Linked DNA regions of Homo sapiens: all the other regions are linked to region 1. Evidence: promoter capture Hi-C in 16 types of primary human blood cells and fetal thymus (Javierre and others, 2016). All regions are on one chromosome and are shown on one strand. The core of a region is centred on a gene start or on the middle of the fragment in contact, and the rest is flanking DNA. Distances in the headings are between cores, read along the strand shown.

The links. The method cuts DNA at HindIII sites, captures the fragments that hold promoters and counts their contacts. A CHiCAGO score of 5 or more calls a contact.
Region 2: a contact is called between a fragment that was not itself captured here and the fragment with the promoter of SLC24A3 in region 1, in 1 of 17 cell types (megakaryocytes). The highest score is 8.7, in megakaryocytes.
Region 3: a fragment that was not itself captured here is called in contact with the fragment with the promoter of SLC24A3 in region 1 in 4 of 17 cell types (M1 macrophages, M0 macrophages, megakaryocytes and 1 more); the score reaches 7.5 in M1 macrophages.

The regions. Positions count from the first base shown.
Region 1 is chr20:19,211,197-19,214,005 of GRCh38, reverse strand. It overlaps SLC24A3 (solute carrier family 24 member 3), which reads right to left and starts at 1,364. Exons shown (of 17, transcript NM_020689.4): 1 at 1,022-1,364. The coding sequence starts at 1,163. LOC101929547 (a long non-coding RNA gene) reads left to right here and starts at 1,538. Exons shown (of 3, transcript XR_007067549.1): 1 at 1,538-2,377. RefSeq lists a silencer at 964-1,013. The HindIII fragment of the contact is 7,870 bases long and covers 1-2,809 here.
Region 2 is chr20:19,455,353-19,458,161 of GRCh38, reverse strand. All of the region lies in intron 2 of SLC24A3 (solute carrier family 24 member 3), which reads right to left. Among named protein-coding and RNA genes, the nearest start is that of SLC24A3-AS1, 170 kb to the right of the region's middle. The HindIII fragment of the contact is 451 bases long and covers 1,203-1,653 here.
Region 3 is chr20:19,427,325-19,430,133 of GRCh38, reverse strand. All of the region lies in intron 2 of SLC24A3 (solute carrier family 24 member 3), which reads right to left. Among named protein-coding and RNA genes, the nearest start is that of SLC24A3-AS1, 140 kb to the right of the region's middle. The HindIII fragment of the contact is 1,609 bases long and covers 597-2,205 here.

The DNA of each region.
Region 1 (2,809 bases), core at 115-2,614:
GTCGACCTCAACACCACAGCACATACTTGTAACTGTTTTTTTGTTTGTTTGTTTTGTTTTGTTTTGTTTCTTTCTCACAACCCTTTACATGGCTGTTTTCCCACTAATCGTGCCACTTCCACGGCCGGGATATAAAACCATTTTACAACAGTTATTCTCCCATGTTTTTCCTTCATTTTATAGACAGCTGAATCCCAGGATCGAAGCTGTTTCAGCAGACAACTGTTGGGAGCACACAAGATCTATTTCAGCTCAAGAAAGGCCAAGGACAAAGACAAGACAAAAGTTGTGGGTTAAAGGGCAGACTTTGCGCAGAGCACCGGTAGAGGAGCGGACAGTGTGATGCGTGGTCCACTGCAAACCATTTCTTCCACAGCAGCAGCTCTGCAAAAGGGACCTCTGAGGAAGAATTCCCTGTCTTCCCAGTGAGTGGTCATTTTAGGAGAACAAGTCCCCTACTAGCCCATAGCTGGAGGGCCAACACTTTTTCTCTCCCTGAAGTTCCCGGCACCTGTTCTGAAAGGGGGTTGAAGAGCTCTCTACTCGGGCCATCCCGCCTGCTCTCTGGATGGAGAACATACGGACAACTGTGTGTTAAGCAGTCCCCTTGAATCCTTCAGCAAGCCAAGGAGTATACAGGTGGTCACCTGCACAGGTGCCGGGTCTACCACCACAACTTTATCCCTGGCCTTGGGGGCTGATGGAGAGTAAGACTCCCCACCACCGCCACCAGCAGTACCTCCAGCTCGCGAGTAAGCAGCGCACAGGCGGGCACAGGTAAATGTTCCCAGGGCGGCCAGACGCCTAAGCCTGCTGGCTGCTGGCGCTCAGGGTCCCCACCTCCATGCCTCTGCGTGGGGCAGGGGGAGTCCTCGTGCCTGGCATCCCACTCCCCCCGCCAACCCAGCCCGCTTATCCTGGGGCTCCGGCCGGGCCGCCCGAAGGAGCCCCGCGCCCAGCCCCGGGAGCCCCGAGCCGCCGGAGCCGCAGCGCCCACTCGGGGCAGGCAGCGTGCACTCACCCTTCTGCTCTCGCAGGCTCGACAGCGACCAGAGCAGCAGCGCCACCGAGGCCAGGAAGCAGAGCTGGCTCAGCAGAAGGTCCCTCCGGCGGCGGCGGCGGCGGCGGCGACGCGCGCGGTCCTCGTCGCCGGACGGCCGCATCCTCGGGCGGCCGGGCGGCGGCCTCGGCGGGCGGCGGCCGCTCCTGTCGCGGGCGGCCGCGGCGGGGACAGCGGCAGGAGGCAGCCCTGCGCGCAGCAGCCGCGCGTCCTCGCTGCGCTCCCACCCGGCCGCCGCCTCCGCCTCCTCTTCCTCCTCCTCGCCGCTGCCCGTCTCCTCGTCGTCGCCCTCCTCGTCGCTATCGCCCAGTCCCTCCTCCCCTCCCTCCTCCTCCTCCTCGCCGCTCGCCCGCGCCGCCGCCTCCCGGCGCTCGGGGTCCCGCTCCTCCTCGCGCGCCATGGCTCCCACGCTCCGCGCCCGCGCTCGGCCTGGGGCGGCGGCGCGGCGGGGGCGGCGGGGGCGGCCGGGAGGCGGGGGCGGAGGGGGCAGAGGAGGAGGAGCGGGGAAGGACCGACGGTAGGAGGGCCCGCCGCTGGCCAACTCCGCCGGTTGGCAAAGCCACCCCGGACTGGCTCTGGCCTCGCCGGCTGCAGGAGCGCCTCGCGGGGCCGCCCGCCTATTCCATGGTCGGCGCGATGGGGGCCGGGGCCGGGCCGGAGCGAACAGGGAGCACCGAGCGAGCTGGGAGCATGAGCTAGCGCAGCTCCCGGCAGCCTGCAGCGGCGAGGCTGGTCGGGCCAGGGTTGGCGGGGGGCAGTGCCTGGGACACAGCCCGGCGCTGGCCGGCATGGCGGGGAGGGGGCGCGCTGGGAGGAGACTGGGCTGGGGAGGGATCCCTGTGTGCAGTCCTTCAACCCTTCTGTGCCAGGGGAAGAGGGACGGCGCAGGGGGCCCCCTCTCGGGAAGCACACACGCTGCCTCCCAGAGGCCGATCTTCACCAAGAAGGATTCGCTGGAAACTTTCGGAAAACCGAGGGGCTCTTCAGCCTCCTCTCTACGTGCTACCTGGAGTCGGGGCGCCGCGAGTGCGCTTGGCTGCCCGCGCCCAGCCTCTGGCCTCGCCTCTTCTCGCGGGCCTCCCGGGTTTCCCTCTGCCCCCTTGCGGGGATCCCCCTGTGCGCCCGACTCGGGATCTGGAACAGGCCTCCCCAGAGGCTGTTAGTTCCATAAGGGTGTCCGGCTCCCCCCTCTGTCTTGGGCTCACACTTCGCTTTCTGTTCGTGCTGGACCAAGTCCAATACTGTGGCTGATCGAAGTGGGGACAGCTGGCACGGTCCCTGGAGAGGCGGCCTGAAGAGGCTTCTGGCCTTGTGCAGGTAACACCAGCCTGCCCTACCTCCAACGTTAGAATCTTAGTCCTCCCATTTCCCCCATTCTAGGTCTCCTGCCCCTCCTTGCTGAAGGTGTGGGCTGCCCTAGAGATGGCTGGACTCACGACCTGCCGCAGGTGCCCATTTGGAGGGGATCCCTGGCCATCCCAGACACAGCCCACTCTCCCTCATTGGGCTTCCCTGGACTCTTCCCAGATGCTAGCCTGGGGCTGCTGGCTGGGCTGAGGAGGAGATGCCATTGTTGGGGCGGAGGGTGGGGGGGCGCTGAAAACAAAAGACCTTGTCCAGAAAGGGATCACCTGAAACCAGGTGTCTGTCTAGGTGACTGTCTCCATGGAATCCATTCAGATCAGGGAATCTAGCTTCATACCCTAAGGAGGTGGGAAGGAAGCAGAGAACCTCTGTATAAGGCTCCCC
Region 2 (2,809 bases), core at 179-2,678, 240 kb before region 1:
CCATCTTTTTTGCAGGATGTAGAATAAGTCCAGAACACATTCTCAAGCAGAACTTCCAACTTACAAAGCACTGTAGCTCCCACCCTGCCCTGCCAACCTAGGCTTGCAGAAGTCATGGATGAAACAGTCATTATGAAACTGTAGAGTAAGTTTAACCTGAAATTTCTGGAGGAAAAAGGTGGGGAAGGAATTCATCAACGGTCCTCCAGATGCTCTGTGATTCACCTGGGGCCACCTAATCCCAAGGCTTTGCCACCTCTGAACCTCATAGCTGGAGCTGCCACTCTCGATTACCACAGGCTGAAGGTAATTCCTGCAGAAGCCACGTGTAGTTCTTTCTCTGGGGACTGCTCAGCTCTCACAGCTGACTCCCTCAACCTCTTCCAGATGGGATTCACAGCAGGCTAGAACCACAGATCCAGGGAATGTGAGTCCTCAAATGGAATTTGAGGTTGGGGCCTTGGTCCCATGAGTGATTTGTGGCTGTCAGGATGTACAGGATTTGCTTGGCTTCATAAGACAGCCCAGAGATCCAGTTTTAAGGCAGAACATTAGAAAGCTTCCACTACTGTACCACTTCTCAAATATTCCCAGCTAGTGAATGCTTCAGAGGCTAAAAAGCAGTGTTGACTTTGTCATTGGCATTTTTCTATTCAGTAGAATAAACCATCTAAATTGTAAAAATACTATTTTCTTTTATGGAATTCAATAAAGCATTTTCATCTTGAGTGAAAAGTAAGTAGACTATAAATAATTTTTGTTTTAGTCTGAATTTGTATCATGCAAAAAGAAAATGTTCCTTGAAAATGACCCAACCTAATTCCTTCATTTTAAAGTTACAGCTCAGGGTGGTAACATGATTTGCCCCAGGTTATGCAGCAAATGAGATGCAGAGCTGAAAGCAAGACTCTGCCCTCCTCCACATTTCCCCCCTCACCACAACTAGAAAGACTGGTCATAAAATATGAGACTCCACAGTTGATGGATCTGGGATTACGCCATTAGGGTTTCCCTTTACATCCCAGGCCACAGGTCAGTAAGTACTACATTATTCATTTTTTTCTTGGGTCCAGACATTTTTCTGGATGCCCTTTGCAGTTTTTCTTTTTATAGCATCAGATAGCTCACGGAGGAGCCATGTCTGGCACATGCCTCCTCTTATATTAATCCCAAGAGAAAGCTCAGGCTCTAATATTTAAGCTTCCAAGTCATTAACAGAGATTCTGGACAAAGTCACAGTATCATCTTTTATCTCTGTGAACACACTGTACACTGTACCTGCCAGACTGAGTACTGGGGAGTGTAATAAGCCCAGGGTGGTGACTGGTGTGTTGCACTGACTCCCAGGTCAAAGCTGTCCCAAGGCAGGAAGTCACCACCCACAATCACTTCCTTGCCCTGTTAGCCTGTCTTGCCCAATGACTAGGGTTTGGGATTCATGAGTTGACAGTGGATGTCTGAGCCATTGCTAGCTGTAGAGGGGCAGTGAAGTGACAGCCTGGTTACTGACATCCTGGCCATCTCACAGCAATGTGGAAAGATTTAAAGAATGGGTTGTGTATTAGTCCATTTTCACGCTGCCAATAAAGACTGGGCAATTTACAAAATGAAGAGGTTTAATTGGACTTACAGTTCCACATGGCTGGGGAAGCTTCACAATCCTGGTGGAAGGCAAGGAGGAGCAAGTCCCGTCTTACATGGATGGCAGCAGGCAAAGAGAAAATGAGGAACACGCAAAAGCAGAAACCCCTGATAAAACCATCAGATCTCATGAGACTTATTCACTACCACGAGAACAGTATGGGGGAAACTGCCCCCACGATTCAATTATCTCTCCCCAGGTCCCTCCCACAACACATGGGAATTATGGGAATACAATTCAAGATGAGATTTTGGTGGAGACATAGCCAAACCATATCTGGTTGTATGTCTCCTCCTGGAAGGAATAAAAGGTCTTTCTCTTGCCATAAGTGTTCCTCCAAAGGCTACCCTAACTGTGGGGCCCAAATCTCTTTTTCTAAAGGGTCTTTCCTTCAACTTTAAGAAACGTGTTACAGATACAGATGGAAAAAAAAAGGGCAAACATAGGACTTGTGGAGATTTCACTGCCTGGCAGCACAGAGGACTTCCTGGGTGGGATGTACTTACCTTACCTTCCCCAGTACATTATAAACTCATAGCTCATTCATCTATGTCAAAATATCCAACACAGGGTGCAGTTCCTTGTACACAATAGTCGCCTAATAAACGTTACTTAAGGAACCAATTATATATTATACTGACACTTATAATTTTAGCCTCTCAACCAAGTAGTTCTAATTATTTAGCCTCCATCTTCATTTGACTTCCCCCAGAAGGCGACTGTGAAATTAGGGGGGTGATCCGAGGAAGCACCAGTAAGGGAGTGAGGAAGTGAGACAGAGCCCCGAAGGTGGCCCAAACATTCATGAGCATATTACCTCCATCAGCTAGGGCTTGATCCTCCTGGGGATGCTCTGAGAGAGGATGCTGAATTACCTTTTATTGCTCCATGAAGAGGTGAAGAGGCTGGGGTTTATCTACTATACTCTTATCTCTCGCTGATTAAAGATTGCTCCTGGTGTATTGGTTTCCAGACATTCTCGGCTCTCTCTATGTTTATGCTGAGCATACTTCCATGGTTAAAGGATACCATGAGGGAGACAGATGCAAGAATCTGTTTACATACATTTATGAAAAGTATCTACAGGTGACCTCTGGGGTAGGCTGAGGCAACATGGGAAGGGCACTGATAGCATCTGCCACAACTTCACATCTCATCCATCTAACC
Region 3 (2,809 bases), core at 152-2,651, 220 kb before region 1:
AGACATAGTATTAGGGTGGGGTCGGGGGCTGGGGAAGAAAGATCAAACCAAATCCCTTCCTCCTTCCTTCCCTCTCCCCCTTGGGACTCAGTTCCCAGCGGCTTCCCCAGAGATGCCTTTGTGCAGCCCCTAGGGTGGCTACCTCCCCACCCTTCACCCTATTAAATCACAGCCCAGGCCCTCCTCTTTTTTTCTCAGCTGTGCAGACAGGCTTTCCCACTGTAGCTCGAGATTAAAAATGAGAGATTTATTGTGAGGAAATTCTCCCTGCTTTAGGGTGACATAACTCCAAATCAAATGAGGAGAGCATAATCAGCAACACTGAAGATGCCTTTTATGGGTCAGTTAGAAATAAAAATGGGACAACTGAACTCCTGCTACCCTAGGAGCACAGATTTATGGCCCTCTCGGATGACCATATATAGAGTCGGCCGGCCCAGAACATTATTTATTTAGCAGATCATCAGGGCTTCGAAGATAATCCTGGAAGAACCTCATTGTCAAGTAGATGAAGCAGTCTATTAAAATGACACAGTAAATTCAAGTCTAACTCTCATCGTCTTCCACATAAATATGTGTCCTTCCCGGGCTAAGCTTAACTCAAGAAAGAACAGTGTCTCCTGAATGAGGGGTAGATACAAAGTATTAGAGATAGTGCGTGTATTACCTCTGCATTTACTCACACGCTTTCCATAGGCTTCTTTCAAGGCTTTGCACCATAAAAATGAGAGTTTCAGCATTATGCTGCAATGCTGCCTGGATAATCCTGAACCAAAGGTGTAATTCTCTTTTCTCAGAAATAATTAGGTTGAGCATACAAAAATGACATGCCAGAAGTGATCAAATATCAGCAGCCTCCTCTGGGTCAACCCAATACATCAATTCTTTTCTCAATGATAACAGAGGTAAAGGTGAGAATAGTGGAGGATGGTTGAGTGAACAGTGAGGATAGTTGAGTTGCTTGCTTTTGTTTTGTTAAACACAGTTCATACCTCTTTTGCATTTAGTAACCTTCAGAGAAATGAAAGTTTCTGGCTGCTAATAGTGTACAGAGGGGAAATTATTTCTGATTTCTAAAAAATAGCATTATATTTCTGTTTTAAATTCCTGGGCAGAAACACTGGAGGGGGAGGGAAGAACCTAAAGATGGAAAGAAGGCATCCCATGCTTGCTGTAGCTGACAAAACCACAATTCACAACTTGTCTATTACACATTTGCCATATCCCCAACTTGCAAGTAAGGATATCGATACTGATAAAGACAGTTTATGTTTGTAGACTGCATTACTTGCATAAAGCCTCTTCACACCCACCTCCTGGGCAGGGCAGGTTAAATAGCTACAATTTTAGAGAAAAGGAAGGTGTAGATAAGGAAGCTGCAACGTACCCAACACCACGTGGCCAAGAAGTGATGGAATCTGGAGTGGGTAAGAACTCGGAACTACAATCTAGGGCTGCTTCTCTTCTGCCTCCCCGATGAGGATTAAGGATGGTCCATGCCATATCCTGCCCACTCAAAGGAGAGAACTCACATGAGCAATTACACTGTAGCTTACTTTGCTCAGTGGCTCTGGCAGTTTTATCATTTTGGGGAAAATAATGTCTGTTGCAAGTACCAGTGGTTAGACACCAACATGCAAATGTGGAACTTCCTCCACATCCTTGTTCCCATTTTAGAATTTCGCAGCCCTTGCTGACAGTGCCCTGAACTCCAGTCAGACATTTATTTTTGAGAAGTCCCTCAGAGTCTAATGACTCCTACTTAACACACAGTATTAACACGGTGTCGATTGAGTGCTGTGTCCAAGCTCAGTGAATGTTTAAGCTAGCAAACAATAAGCACACTGATTGAATTGTACTGGTGTGAAATGAGCTGGTTGAGGCAAACCAGAAGGTAACAGAAGTAGAAGCTGACGGCCACCCGTGAAGGGAACAAACAGCAACTGCAATACCCACAACCAGACCGGGCTCATGCTGCTGCTACTGCATGGAGAGACGGCTGAGGAATGTGCACGAGACACAGTGCAAGGTGGCAAGAACATATTTTCAAAAGACTGCACTGAAATAAGTCCAAACCAAACGTTGGACTTCCAATTATCTGAGTAATTCAAATATGAGGAGCACAGCAACGCAAGATCCCTGATGTGTTACTGCAAATGTGCTGTTTTGTTATATGTGTGTGGACAGCAGAATTATTGATAAGCTTCTAAAACTGTGGATTAATCCACTGATATTAAAGTTGTGCATGAATACACAGAGCGAAACATAAACTATCCTCTGGAAATGAAGAGCCTGTTCCCTGACGGGAGATAAAAGCCCCTTTCCAGACAACCTCTACAGGTCCCACTGGTTCCCACTGCCTGGAGTCCCTCCTCCCAGCCTCCAGCAAATACTTTTTTCCAGGAGAGATCTTTATCCTCTCTGGGTCAGCCCAGGACAGGCCTGGGAGGAGGACAAGTCGGAGGGCGGGGCCTGTAATAGGCAGAGGCACGGCAGTGGGAATGGACTCCGGGTTCCCGATAGCAGCTTGTTTCACAGGGAGCGTCTTCACACCTCATTTTTGGGGCCAAGGCTGCATCCACCTACCTTTTCCCCCAGCCCCCAGTGGAACACTAAAGCGCAAATGGTATTTGAAAAGTCAAGAAACATAAAATCGATTTCTTTCTAAACAGTATTTACATTTTTACATAATATGCTCAATATATTTTTTTCAGCCTCCAGATGCCTCTTCAGATGAAATACCTTGAAATTTAAAGCAATGAGTTCACTTGTTCACCCGACAAAAGTAAAGCAGATGCACCATTTTCCC